Linked DNA regions of Homo sapiens: all the other regions are linked to region 3. The links are contacts of gene promoters, found by promoter capture Hi-C in blood cells and fetal thymus (Javierre and others, 2016). All regions are on one chromosome and are shown on one strand. The core of a region is centred on a gene start or on the middle of the fragment in contact, and the rest is flanking DNA. Distances in the headings are between cores, read along the strand shown.

Region 1 (2,977 bases), core at 79-2,578, 480 kb after region 3:
CATAATTCTGGAAAGTATTTTCCTTATATAGTGTTCTAGAGTAGAGGTTTATAAGTGATATGTTTTGGATCTATTCAAGTTCCATGAAACCCCTCAGAAAGTGTGCAGTGGGCCAGGCGCAGTGGCTCATGCTTGTACAAATCCCAGCACTTTGGGAGGCAGAGGCAGGCGGATCACTTGAGGGTCAGCACTTGGAGACCAGCCTGGCCAACATGGTGAAACCCCATCTCTACTAAAAATAGCTGGGCTTGGTGGTGCACGCCTATAATCCCAGCTACTTGGGAGGCTGAGGCACAAGAATCACTTAAACCTGGGAGGCGGAGGTTGCAGTGAGCCGAGATCACACCACTGTACTCCAGCAAGACTGTCTCCAAAAAAAAAAAAAAAAAAAAAAAAAAAGGAAGGGAGGAGAGAGGGAAGGAGGAAGGAAGGAAAGAGAGACAGAGAGAGAGAAAGGAAAGAAAGTGTTCTGTGGATGGGGTTTTGTGATTGGACCTCCAGTCCTCTGTACCAACTTTCACCAGAGTTACTTGGTTTTTATTTGTTTTAACTACTACACTTAAAATTAACATTTTATTTTAGGAAAGGGTTGTATGAGTGTTTTTTTTTTTTTGAAGTTTAAAACTGTTTTAAAGCTCAAAAGCTATGTCCCTCATTTTGCATTTGAGCGAATTGAGACCCAGAAAGGGCTGAGTTAGTTTCCTTTTTTAATTTTGAAATATGTATACATTGTGAAATGGCTACATTGAGCTAATTACTATGCATTACCCCACATTTTTTTTGTGTGTGCCAACACTTAAAAATCTACTCTCAACAATTTTCAAGAATACATTGTTATTAAGTGTAGCTGCCAAGTTGTACAATAAATCTCTTGAATTTACTTTTGTCTAACTGAACTTTTATATCCTTAGGCCAGCATCTTCCCCCCATACTCCCTATGCCCCGTATCTGGTAACTACCAGCTCTACTCTCTACCTCTATGAGTTGAGGTTTTTTAGATTTCACGTATAAGTGAAATGATGAGTTATTTGTCTTTATGTGCCTGCCTTATTCCACTTAACACAATGCGCTTCACGTTCATCCATGTTGTCATAAATGACAGGATTTCCTTGTTTTTTAAAGACTTGAATAGTATTTCATTGTGCGTATATGCCACATTTTCCTTTTTTTGTTTTGTTTTGTTTTTTTTTGAGACAGAGTCTCACTCTGTCGCCCAGGCTGGAGTGCAGTGGTGCAATCTCAGCTCACTACAGCCTCCACCTCCGGGGTCCAAGTGATTCTCCTGCCTCAGCCTACCGATAGCTGGGATTACAGGCCACATTTTCTTTATCCGTCCATCTCTTAGTGGACGCTTAACGTTGATTCCCTATCCTGGCTATTGTGAAGGGTTGAGTGACTTTAAAGATCAAAAAATGTTAGCAGAGCCAAGGGTGTATAGTTAAGTTTTCAATTCGCAATTTTTTATTCTTTCTGTCATATATAATAGTGCCTCTTGGTAGAAGTTGAAAGGAAAAATTGGTCTGAACTGTACTTAATCCAAAACTTAACTTGAAGTATATTTTTTTCTTCTGCTGTTTAAGAAGCATATGTATTTTATTTTATTTGAGACAGTCTCACTCTGTCGCCTAGGCTGGAGTGCAGTGGCGTGATCTCAGCTCACTGCAACCTCCGCCTCCCGGGTTCTAGCGATTCTCCAGCTTCAGCCTTCCGAGTAGCTGGGACTGCAGATGTGCACCACCATGCCCAGCTAATTTTTGTATTTTTTAGTAGAGACAGGATTTCGCCATGTTGGCCAGGCTGGTCTCGAACTCGTGACCACAAGTGATCTGCCTGCCTTGGCCTCCCAAAGTGCTGGGATTATAGGCATGAGCCACCATGCCCAGCTGAGAAGCATATATATGACTAAATTAATGTGGCTATTATTTTGGGCAAGTTCTGGTTAATTAAGAATTCTATCTGCTAAGCTGGTTGAGATTTCACTGTAGTTAGATTTTGCTTAATATAAGTTTGTGTCTGTTGTTAATTATGTAAATCCTTTCCTATGGAATGGAAAACAGCTAATTACCATTTTAATCTAATAGATTCTTGTTATGCAGATATTTGTGCACATTTGGAATAGATATGTTTCAGAAAAGCTGATTATAAAGCCAAATTTTATATTATGAGGCTTAATTTTCCCATTGATTTTCATTTTAAAATATAATTTGGGTTCCATTGGAGTGCCGGGGTGTGGTGTGTTCACTGGGCCATGGTCCCTGTTGCCCTGCTGGATTGATGTAGAAATTTTGAGTTTAGAGAACCAGAGTTTTAAAGTCCCATAACTTTGCATCTTCAGGTAATGTATACTGAATTTTTCTGCTCAGTTAAATGTATAAGAGGAAAATTCAGTCTGTCATTTTGTTTTAAGAGCAAATATCCTATCATTATGGGGTTTATATACTCCTTTAAAACTTCTCTTTTTTTTTTTTAAGAGAATAATTCTGATTTCTTCAGAATCTCCTGGAGAGGTAGTATTAATATAATGGAATACCTTTAAAATACATATGTTGCTCTAGTGAACCTTAATAACTGTGATTTTAAAAGAAATCTACCTTTAACAGATTTATTGTATTGTCTCAAATTTTCTAGATATTTTTTGAGATAAATATGTAACAAATGATTTTTCATTCATATTTCTGCTTCATTATAAACAGAGAGCCAGGTAGGGCCTTACTGTAATACTCATGCAAGTATAAAGTCACTTTGAAGTGTTTTTATTTTCTAAGTAGTTAATATAGATCGAATAACTGAATTGTTCAAGAATTTTGTGTAAGGTTTTTTGTTTGTAAATAGAGCAGTTTTCAGCTTACAACTGTAATAGCATCAACCACAGCTCTCATTAGATTTTGGATGTTCCTTTTTTGAATTTGAGGAAAGCTGGGTGGAGTTACAGCTAGTACTTGGGGGTCTGTGACCAATGTGGATCTGCTCTTCATGT
Region 2 (2,700 bases), core at 1-2,500, 420 kb after region 3:
GCCACCTCTTCAGGTAACGAAGGTGGAAAATAATTTGATTGTAGATAAAGCCACCAAGAAAGCAGTCATAGTTGGAAAGGAGAGTAAATCTGCTGCTACAAAGGAGGAATCAGTATCTCTTAAAGAGAAAACCAAACCACTTACACCAAGCATAGGAGCCAAGGAGAAGGAGCAACATGTAGCTTTAGTCACCTCTACATTACCACCGTTACCTTTGCCTCCCATGCTGCCTGAAGATAAAGAAGCTGATAGGTAAGTGCAAAAAGTATTTGTCAATAACTGTTCAAAGAAAAAATGTAAGTCTGAAGTGAGAAATGAGTTGACCTCCCCTAACCCCCTCGAAACAACTTTAGTGAAAAAGACTACAAGTGAATGAATTTTCTTGATTATATGCATCTTAAAATGAAGCACATTGCATACAAGATGGCAAAATTAAAGTTTATACTAAGACATTCAGGGAAAAATTGCCATTGTCTTGGGATACAATGAATATTTCAATATGATTTTGGGTATTAGAAATGCCAGTATTCTCTTTGGTTTAGTTTTCCTTGATGATGTAATCAGAGACAGAATATTTTATGAATAAGTTGGCCCTAGTTAATATACATCTCACAAGCATTTGTCTCATTTATTTCTAAGTTTCTTCAGTGGCCTTGTAAATTTATCACTGTCAGTGATTTTGTTATCACTTTTTAGTTTAGTCTTTTCTTAACTCTTTTAATTAAAAAAAAATTTTTTTAGCCTGTCTTGCAGTTGGGATTAATCACATTATATTATAGAAAACTCATAATGTGGCCAGGCCTGGTGGCTCAAGCCTGTAATCCCAGCACTTTGGGAGGCCGAGGCGGGTGGATCACCTGAGGTCAGGAGTTCAAGACCAGCCTGGCCAACATGGTGAAACCCCGTCTCTACTAAAAATACAAAAAACTTAGCTGGGCGCAGTGGCAGGTGCCTGTAATCCCAGCTACTAGGGAGGCTGAGGCAGGAGAGTCACTTGAACCTGGGAGGTGGAGGTTGCAGTGAGCCGAGATTGCGCCACTGCACTCCAGCCTGGGTGACACAGTAAGACCGTGTCTCACCAAAAAAAAAAAAAAAAAAAAAAAAAGAGAAAATTCATAATGTGATTATGCTTTCCTTTAAGATGTTTAAAAATTTCTATTATGAACAGTGAGGGTATGGCTTATTTTTTATTGAGAAACATATTCTTAAGAGGCAGTAAAAATACAGCTAAGAATGTTTCTTTTTTGTATCCTAGTGTAGAAAAATTAGACTTGTGTGGTTTATCTGCCTGTTACACCACCTAGCTGTTTTTATTTTTATGAAGAAATTAGAGCTTCCACCCCCTCCCACTCCCCATTAAAAAGCAACTATATGAGTAGTTTTCCTAGCTGATTTTTTTTTTTTTAATAGATTTTGAAGTCAGATGGATAAAAATGCCATGTGGACAAGTGCTTACTTTGGCATTATGAAAATTTTATAATTTAACACAAACAAAAGTGAAATAATAATTCTTGAGTTTCATGCCCTTTGAGGTGCCTTTTTAAAAATAATCAAAATGTTGTTGGGAGACCCCATCCAATTTAATCGGGTGTTATTTAATTATACTACTATAATTGTTGTATTTGCAGGTTTGACTGTTCTCAGGGAACGCTGAAGGTTCATAACAGTAGTGATTTGTAATTGTGAGGCTTGAGTGTGGAATTGAATTACTTCATTAGAGAGTAACCAGTTACTGAGAATCCATGTTTCATTGAGACTGGTGTTTCTCTACTTTATCCTTTTTTTTTTTTTTTTGAGACGGAGTCTTGCTCTTTTGCCGAGGCTGGAGTGCAGTGGCGCTCTCTCGGCTCACTGCAAGCTCTGCCTCCTGGGTTCATGCCGTTCTTCTGCCTCAGCCTCCCGAGTAGGTGGGACTACAGGCGCCCGCCACCAAGCCCGGCTAATTTTTTGTATTTTTAGTAGAGACGGGGGGCTTCACCATGTTAGCCAGGATGGTCTCGATCTCCTGACCTCACGATCCACTTGCCTTGGCCTCCCAAAGTGTTGGGATTACAGGCGTGAGCCACTGCGCCCAACCTACTTTATTCTTCATGTATGCTTTAGGAGTAAATTTTTACTAGGTTATTTTCAAGAACTCTTACGTATACATGTGAGTGCTTAATGAGGATATTCCTTATGCATCTGTCTTTAATTAGTTGGTGGCACATTTAATTCTTGTTCATTACTTTTTTTTTTTGATTCACCTTTTCTGTCTCCTCTCCTTTTCCCCCTTTTTGTTGTCTCTTCTTTCTTTGAATGTGTTTGTATGTTTAATGGATACGGAAGTTTCTAAAGATTCATGAGCACTTCTACTACATGTCTGTGTGGCCAAAGATTAACTCATCACCAATGGAACTTTCCTTATTTTGATGTCTATAATTTACCTAAATGTATGTACTAACTACATATGAGGAAGAGACTTGATATTGTTTTACTTTTTATAAAAGTTTTTAGGTGATTAAATAAAAATGTATTGTAAAAAGAAATGGTTAGAAGTGATTACTTTTGGAAATAAATGGGCGCTGAAGGGAATGGATGGCACAGGAGACTTATTTTATATTTACTATTTATAATACTGTTAGAAGTACAATAACATTTGTTAGTGGGCTGTAGTAGAAAGCTTAGTTTTTAGTGCCAGTTGTACCTCTTACTACTCTCATG
Region 3 (2,723 bases), core at 47-2,546:
GTTGCTTTTGAGTTTTAGTTGGTAATTAATATTTTAATCTCCTTCTGCATCAGTGGTTATCTCATTTCTCATTCTTGTATAATTTTGTTCTCTTTAAAAATCTGGGTCATGACAGGATTATCTATCTTATTGGTGTTTTCAAATAATACAAAAAAGAATTGGACTTACTTATTCAAGTTTTGAGGTTTTCTATTTTATTGTTATCTTTATTGCTTACTACCATTTTGTTCCTAATAAAGATATATACATATATCTTAATATATTTACATTAATAAAATATACATATTTGTAGTTTATATATTTTTTATTTGTGGGATGCCAAATTCTCTCTGGAGATTTAAAATTGTAACATGAACCAACCACCCACTCCCACACACTTATGGTTCTTACTGTGCTTATTTAAAAATTTTTTTCATAGCATTTATTTATGATCTTCTAACAAACCTTATGCTACTTATATATTGCTTATTGTTTATCCTGTCAATTTTACATGACTATAAAGTCGACAAGGGTTGGGAACTTCCGTCTGTTCATTGATGTATCCCAAAGCCTGGAATGGTACCTGACACAAGGTAGGTGTTCAATAAATTGTTAGATAAATAAATCATAATCACATGACTCATTTTACCCAGGCAAAGGGCAAAACAGGAATACTACAGGTATTCATTCATTCACCAAAATAGAGTTCAGCATTTACTATGTGTCAGAACTGTCCTGGTGTTGACACAAGTCCCCACCCTTACCAAACCAACTGTTTACTTTAGGGCATATGAACAGGAATGGGAGGCAGAAGGATATCGTGAATCAATGAAAAAATATATTGGCTTTACAAATGTACTCTATATTTCTTACTAATCTCAAATTGGCTACAGTACCTCGCTTTTCGATCCTATTTTCCTTTACTCCACAATCCTAACAGTTTAAAATGTCGGCTTGTCAAATCCTTTAAATGCAGAGGAGATTCCAAAAGAGACAAAGTATTTGGGTGGTAATCGCCCATCGACTTTACTACCTTTAATAGTTTACCAAAGCGCGCGAATGTAAAACCCAGACCATGGTAAGACTACGGTGGAAATGGAAGGTGTCTCACTGAGGGTCCCGGTTGCCTTCTGCAAAGGTGAAGGTCGTGCCGGCCACGCGAGGAAATCTGCCTCGCTCACAACTCACAGGCACACATCAACACTGCCAACCGAGGGAGCCCAAAATCACCGCAAGCGAAAGGCTCCGGCGGCGGCCACGGGCCACAGCCCGCCTCCGCGCACACGCAGCCCCTCCCGAGCCTCCACTCGCCGTCTTCGCCCCGCCTTCGGACCGGAAGGAGTTGTTGGCGCTTCCGGTGGCCTGCGACCCCGTAATTGCCTCGGTGATGTCGTGGGTTCAAGCAGCCTCCTTGATCCAGGGCCCTGGAGACAAAGGGGACGTGTTTGACGAAGAAGCAGACGAGTCGCTCCTGGCGCAGCGGGAATGGCAGAGTAACATGCAAAGACGAGTCAAAGTAAACGTGGTGTGGACGGCGCGGGGTGCTGGGTTGTGGGAAGAGGCGCGGAGTTGTGAAGAAGCTGGGTCCAGAGTGGCCCCAGCCTGGCCCGGCGCTGCTCTCTTTATCCCTAGGGACCCGGTCCGACCCGCGTCTTGCTAGGATTTCTCGATGGTTACTTGAAAGCGTGTAAAACAACAAGACGCATTCTTTGAGCGCCTACGGGATGCGTTAGAAACTGAGGACCGACCAAAATTAACTATGTGTAGACTTTGAACAGTTTGCAGTTTGTTGAGGATCACAGGGAAAGGAGCTGGAGAGAAACATACACTATACTTATTATGGCTGTCAAAGGACGTGTACGCAGTTTATATGGGTGGCTTGAATGGGTAGGGAGCCTAAAGTTAAGGAGTAGTGTTAATCAAGACATATTGAAAAGATGAACTAAAGCATGCTGTCAGAGGACAATAAGGGAAAGCTAATGTGGAATACTGGTGTCTAGGTAAGGGAATATTAAAGTTGGTTTCTTTTTTATTTGTTAGATGTAACTTTTTCATCTCTAATTTGTCTCACTATTCATTGAAACTAAGCTTAATTTCTGTGTGCAGCCTACAGTATTTCTGGGTGAGGACCAAATAGTGAGGTCCACATCCACTTAATATATTTGCCAACCATTAAATTGCCGCTAAAGCTGCAGTTGGGAATCTGCCCTGTTTAATATTTCAGTAGAGTGGTATTTGCTTAGCCCAAAAACCATGTTGTCAATTACAAAAATGCTTTATGTGAGACTGGGGCCACACTAATAAGTATTGAGCATCTTTTAAATGCTGTGGCACCGTGAGAGATGCAGAACGAAATCACTACCCACAGAGCTTTTGCAGGTTAGTTGAATTTAGGTATTATGCAAAATTTCTGAAACCAGACTTCTCATCATCCTTTTTTTTTTAAACAATTTCCTCTCTCTGCTTTGCCCTGTCTCCTCACCCACCCACACCATTCCAATCAGTTGGCAAGAGCCCAGATGTGTAATTTTCCATATATCCTTTTTGTGAAGACATTGCTAATGCTGGGTTTTGTTTTTTGTTTTTTGGTTTTTTTAATCTTTTGAAGTGATTAGAAAAGTTTATTTTGTGCTTAGGATATTTTTCTAAGGCATCACAGGTTACACATCCAAACTCTTCAATGGTATAATATTTTATATTCTAAAGGAGAGACCTTTAAAGAAAACTTGTACATTATGCTACTA
Region 4 (2,757 bases), core at 120-2,619, 270 kb after region 3:
ATTTTATATCCTTGAAACAAATGTTGAAATATGTAATTGAGAGGGCGGCGGCGGCGGCGGCGGCGCTGGAGGCGCAGAGGGCGGCGCAGGCGGAGCCGGGCGGGCGCGCGAGCGAGCGGAGAGCGGGCGGCCGTGCGGGCGGCGGCGGCACCCCCAGGCCGAGCCGGCGCCGAAGGAGTTCCAGGGCGATGGGGCCGCGGCCCGGGCTGACGCTTTGACAGCTGGAAAGAGCGCGGAGCCAGCGCCTGGTGGGGAGGGAGGGGAGCGCGGCGAGGAGAGCGCCAGCGAGCGAGAGAGCGAGCGAGCGCCGGGGAGGGGGCCGGGAGCGAGGAGCAGCGCGGGAGAGCCGGAGCGGTAGCGGCGGCGGCGGCGAGGCTCGGCGCCCTCTTCCCTGCAAACCATGTTTGCCAAAGGCAGAGGCTCGGCGGTGCCCTCGGATGGGCAGGCTTGGGAAAAGTTAGCTTCATACGTCTACGAATATTTACTGCACGTAAGAGTACAGAAATCTGCAGAGACCTTCTTGTCGGAGATTCGATGGGAAAAAAACATCACGTTGGGAGAACCGCCTGGGTTTTTGCACTCGTGGTGGTGTGTATTTGGGGACCTTTACTGTGCAGCTCCTCAAAGGAGAGACACTTGTGAACATTCAAGTGAAGCAAAAGCCTTTCATGATTATAGTGCAGCAGCTGCCCCGAGCCCCGTGCTTGGCAACATTCCCCCCAACGATGGGATGCCGGGAGGCCCCATCCCGCCAGGTTTCTTTCAGGGTCCTCCGGGGTCACAGCCCTCGCCGCACGCACAGCCTCCACCTCACAATCCTAGCAGCATGATGGGACCCCACAGTCAGCCTTTTATGTCACCGCGATACGTAGGCGGCCCCGGGCCCCCGATCAGAATGGGAAACCAGCCTCCGGGAGGAGTTCTTGGGACACAGCCATTGCTGCCCAATTCTATGGATCCCACACGACAACAAGGCCACCCCAACATGGGAGGATCAATGCAGAGAATGAACCCTCCCCGAGGCATGGGGCCCATGGGTCCCGGCCCACAGAATTACGGCAGCGGCATGAGACCACCACCCAACTCCCTCGGCCCGCCATGCCCGGGATTAACATGGGCCCGGGAGCTGGCAGACCCTGGCCCAATCCTAACAGTGCTAACTCAATTCCATATTCCTCCTCATCACCTGGTACCTATGTGGGACCCCCGGTGGTGGCGGCCCTCCAGGAACACCCATTATGCCCAGTCCCGCAGATTCAACAAATTCCAGTGACAACATCTACACAATGACCTGGCGGCAGGTCCAACTTCCCGATGGGTCCCGGCTCGGACGGTCCGATGGGCGGCATGGGTGGCATGGAGCCACACCACATGAATGGATCATTAGGGTCAGGCGACATAGACGGACTTCCAAAAAATTCTCCTAACAACATAAGTGGCATTAGCAATCCTCCAGGCACCCCTCGAGATGACGGCGAGCTAGGAGGGAGCTTCCTCCACTCCTTTCAGAATGACAATTATTCTCCAAGCATGACGATGAGTGTGTGATCCCCCCTTCTCCGAGACGCTGAGAGAGCCGGCATTGCAGGCGGGAAGACGCCAGAAATTATGCAAGAAGTGAGGTGTTATTATCCAGGAGCTGGTGGGGAGGGCATCTCCCTGCTCCCCTAAACCCCCTCCCACCCCATCCACGCCCCCTACCTTTCCCAATTTTAGTTTCATGCAATAAAAAGGCCAAACTTTTTATTCCATAAAACATGAAGGACAAAACTCTCAAAAAAAAAAAAAGAAATATGTAATTGAGAAATTGAATCTCATGTTATTTCCCTCCTCTTCTTTCCATTTTCAAAATTTCAGACTTGTATATAGGTTTTCATGAGTTAATTCTACCAGTGCAGTATATTTTACAAATATTTCTTTTCTTAACACCATATGCTTTTCCCAAGTAAGGTCACCCACTCCTACACCCTGAGTGCCTCAATTTGACTTGTCCCACACTGAAGACATTGTCCTTGACCTTCTCCTGACTTTTTGTAATCTGCTCTGTCATCTGATTTTCCCATCCTAGGAAGTAACATCTAGTAAATAGAACTGAAACATTGAAACAGGAAAAATCTCGCATTCCAGCACTCCCTCAAATCACCAATCCAGTCACTCACAAGTTATACTTTTTCCACCTGCTTACCGTTTTTCATATCTCACTGCTATAATTCACTTTGACCCATCATTTTGAAATACTCTTGTCTAGTTTTGTCCCTCCCCCATCCCATGCCATGTTCAGTTATCATTACAATGCTGCCAGGGTGGCCTTTCTAAGATATTTTATGATGCTGTAACTCATCTGTTTATGAGTGGATCCCCATTACATGATGGGGAAGTTCACATTCTAGCATGGCACATATCTTTTGTGGTTTGGCCTGATTCTCCCATTTTATTTCTCCATCTCACTCCCTCTGACTAGGTTCCAGTTTTCCTGCATTACTTTAACACCCCTCATTTGCCATGTCGTTTCTCATTTCATGCCTCATACCTTTGCTCATACTGCCCTGTCTAGAAACCCTTCACATCCTCACTCTCTGCACTTTGTCCTTCTTTCAAAATAGGCCCTATCTTTGCAGCATTTCTGGAACTTCCCAGGTATAACCGACCATTGTTTTCTTTGAGCCCTTACTGTCCATTATTAACTTCAGTTGTAGAACTAGTGAACTATACTGTTTTGTTTTTGTTTGTTTCCATATATCTCTACCCCTACTCAAA
Region 5 (3,026 bases), core at 393-2,892, 390 kb after region 3:
TTAGGGGGTCGAAGGGACAAAGCAACTGGGCGAAGGGAACTTTTCTCCTAGCTGTGGCAGGGAAGATTTCTAAGGAAGAATTAAAAGTTTCAGACTTGTTGCATTAATGTGTTAACAGGTTTCTCTCAGTTGCTCTTTGCTTTTCTGGTACAATTTGGGTAAACCTAGAGGTGGTTTAAGTCTTAATTTTGAAAGTTCTGTGAAGAGGTTTCATTGTTGGGAATTTAGGAATGGACTGCAACTTAAGATCTAGTATTGTACAGGGGAATAAGAATCAGGTACTGATGTCAGAGTTAGATGTGGATTGCAGATGTTTCTTATGATTATTACAGAAATGGGAGAAGCAGCCTTTCTGTAAAGTTTATTCTTTTAGTATGTTAAAAAAGCTTAGGTGGAAGCCGATAGTTCTGAATACTGAAGTTAAAAAAGGTATCTATTTAGTGATATTCTTGTGTGGGATAGTTTTTACCTGATCTTTCAAAGTCATAATTATAGAAGGTAGAAAAAATGACAAGACTGTGGTTTCTTTGTTGGTTTGTGATGACACCCAGTTGCTAATAACATTATAAATCTGGGTGGTGTAACCTAGTGTAACCAAGTGAATGGCTGAGTACATTCTTATACTATTATAAGCCTGTAACTGCTTACTTTAAAAGCTAAGTAGACTTTTTCTTAGATATATACCCGAAGGATAAAAACACAATATAACTAGACCTTTAAATATCAGGATCTTTGTCCAGAAATCTTTAAAAGGTGTAATTTAATTTAATGAAATTGGAGTAAAACTTTTCTGTAGCTTTCTTGCCTTTTTTGTTATATAATATTCTTTTTAAAAAGTGTGCCTTAAAATATACTTATCCACTAAGCAAAGTGCATTAAAAACAACTTTCGAGTATTTTATGGGTTCTTATATTCCTTGAGATGTTTGGACATTCCAGACCTTATAGTGTAGAGTATTGCAAAATGACATTTGTATCAGTTTTTCCTCCTGGGTTTCAGTAATGGCAAGTGGATGTACAGTACCTCTAAGTATGGGTTATGTGGAATCTCAACATAATACGAATATGCATCTGCAAAATTAGCAGACCTTTTTGAAGTATCACCATAATAAATGTAAAGGTGTGATGTTTATAGAGATCTGAGCGTGAGTTTGTCTTTAAGCCAAAAAAGTTCTATAAATTGCTTCACTCTTAAAGAGTGTTGAAGCATACTTAAAATGTTAGTTGATACCTTAGCGAAGAATTGAAAAACTCATTCATCAAAATTAGCCATTGTATCTTGTAAGACTTTGTATGTTACTTTTAACTATAATACTTTGCCAAAGGGTTTGCAGTTTTTGCAGTTGAATTTGTTTTGCAAACTGGTTGGTTGAAGTTTCAGCACTTGAACAATTTAAAGTGCTTGATGCAATTTTAAGAATGGATTTTGTACTTATCAGGTTTTTTAGTTGCTGGATACTTCAGCGAGATCCTTTATTGTATAATAGTGGTATGTATTTTTTATATACATATATGAAATATATAATCGTGGTATGTATGACTAGGACTATTCATATTTAGCAAGTATTTTTTGACCCTGTATTGTATGCCATATACTGTTTTAGGTATTGGGATGTAGCAGGAAAGAAAAAGTTACTTGCCCTCATAGAGCTTGCATTCTGGAGGACCGTTCAACACATAATCTTTTCATGGTGTTTACATTGACCACCAGTATTTCTAAAGAGTTGAATTTGGAAGGAACTTTAGGGTGTCTTGGCTAACATTGCTGACAGATGGCCATTTGGTATGTGCCTGAAATACATCTAGAGGTGGGAAGCACGTTAGTTAGAGGCAACCTGTTCACTAGATTTGGGACTTGAGTGTTTTAGCAAGATCCTTGAAGACTCAGTTTCCTAAACTGTAACAGGGAAACACTTGTTTTTCTGGATTATTTCAAGGATTAAGTGAAAATTTATCTTTTTAAAGCATGCAGCCTTACAGAAATATTTAAGGTCGTTGAATTATTCAATATCCCAAATTGTTAGAATTCTTCATATTGTGACCAAAATCCACCTTCGAACCATTGCTCCAAGTTTAACCCTTTGGAATGGTACAGAGCACACGTGTATGCTAACCCTTTAAAATATAAAGACAGTTGTCATGATTTCTGAGTCTTCTAGACTAAAAAACTCATACGGTTTTCAGATTTTTCACATTATATCTAGTTTGTCAAATGTCCAGCTTAAAACATAGGGCCTAGAATTAATAGCTAAAATAGTTGATTGGAAAAATCTAAAGATTTTAAAATATAATAAGTGTATTGTTACTTTTTAGGAACGGTTAATTGAACTCACTTGTACAGATTAATGGAAAAGTTTTATTTATTTTCAGAATTTATTACTTGTGGTAAGTGGCCCATGTTCTTTAATGAATGGACTGCTGTGAGTTCCATGAAGGCAACTGGGCTGTCTTATCCATCATTGTATTTCTAGTGCTCAGCACTGTATCTGGCACAAGTACACTCTTAATAAATGTTGAATAGGTGTAAATGAAGGGATGCTGGAGTTTACTGAACATACAAAATATTAATGTGGGCTTTGTATTACAAACTTCATTCAAAATATTTAATACAGACCATGTGTAATGCTGTAAGAAACAGTGTAATATTTCCCCAGCCTATGCAGAACTTACATATTAATGAATTGTCAGCGTAGATATTTTCAAGGAAATGCATACACATTCAAAATAGTATTGAAATCGTGGTATGAAGATGAAAAACAATTTTAAATAAGCTGAAAATAGAGATAGGGTTTCACCATGTTGCCCAGGCTGGTGTCAAACTCCTGGGCTCAAATGATCCACCTGCTGCATCAGCCTCCCAAAGTCCAGGGATTACAGGTGTGAGCCACCACATCCAGCCTGAAGCTTTTTTTGATGTCAGATAAATAAATCCTTTTCATTTTAGTGATTTCCACTTCACAACTTGTTCTTTGTCTTCATTTGAATCTTCAGTCCTCGGCTCATGCATTTCTTTTCATCAGTTCCCTC

The links. The method cuts DNA at HindIII sites, captures the fragments that hold promoters and counts their contacts. A CHiCAGO score of 5 or more calls a contact.
Region 1: a contact is called between a fragment that was not itself captured here and the fragment with the promoter of YAE1-DT in region 3, in 5 of 17 cell types (naive CD4 T cells, total CD4 T cells, fetal thymus and 2 more). The highest score is 7.9, in naive CD4 T cells.
Region 2: a contact is called between a fragment that was not itself captured here and the fragment with the promoter of YAE1-DT in region 3, in 3 of 17 cell types (naive CD8 T cells, non-activated CD4 T cells and naive CD4 T cells). The highest score is 5.1, in naive CD8 T cells.
Region 4: a contact is called between a fragment that was not itself captured here and the fragment with the promoter of YAE1-DT in region 3, in 1 of 17 cell types (erythroblasts). The highest score is 5.0, in erythroblasts.
Region 5: a contact is called between a fragment that was not itself captured here and the fragment with the promoter of YAE1-DT in region 3, in 1 of 17 cell types (activated CD4 T cells). The highest score is 5.0, in activated CD4 T cells.

The regions. Positions count from the first base shown.
Region 1 is chr7:40,048,808-40,051,784 of GRCh38, forward strand. All of the region lies in intron 7 of CDK13 (cyclin dependent kinase 13), which reads left to right. Among named protein-coding and RNA genes, the nearest start is that of MPLKIP, 84 kb to the right of the region's middle. The HindIII fragment of the contact is 5,751 bases long and covers 1-2,977 here.
Region 2 is chr7:39,988,007-39,990,706 of GRCh38, forward strand. It overlaps CDK13 (cyclin dependent kinase 13), which reads left to right. Exons shown (of 14, transcript NM_003718.5): 2 at 1-252. Among named protein-coding and RNA genes, the nearest start is that of CDK13, 39 kb to the left of the region's middle. The HindIII fragment of the contact is 2,813 bases long and covers 1-2,657 here.
Region 3 is chr7:39,565,053-39,567,775 of GRCh38, forward strand. It overlaps YAE1-DT (YAE1 divergent transcript), which reads right to left and starts at 1,297. Exons shown (of 3, transcript NR_187579.1): 1 at 1,091-1,297. YAE1 (YAE1 maturation factor of ABCE1) reads left to right here and starts at 1,352. Exons shown (of 3, transcript NM_020192.5): 1 at 1,352-1,495. The coding sequence starts at 1,367. It also overlaps the pseudogene TMX1P1. RefSeq lists an enhancer at 1,189-1,638. The HindIII fragment of the contact is 5,827 bases long and covers 1-2,065 here.
Region 4 is chr7:39,833,171-39,835,927 of GRCh38, forward strand. The region is part of intron 1 of LOC101928688 (a long non-coding RNA gene); the gene reads left to right. It also overlaps the pseudogene LOC100422519 and the pseudogene SSBP3P1. Among named protein-coding and RNA genes, the nearest start is that of LINC00265, 100 kb to the left of the region's middle. The HindIII fragment of the contact is 3,054 bases long and covers 1-2,757 here.
Region 5 is chr7:39,952,024-39,955,049 of GRCh38, forward strand. The region is part of intron 1 of CDK13 (cyclin dependent kinase 13); the gene reads left to right. Among named protein-coding and RNA genes, the nearest start is that of CDK13, 3.3 kb to the left of the region's middle. RefSeq lists an enhancer at 1-359. The HindIII fragment of the contact is 2,517 bases long and covers 385-2,901 here.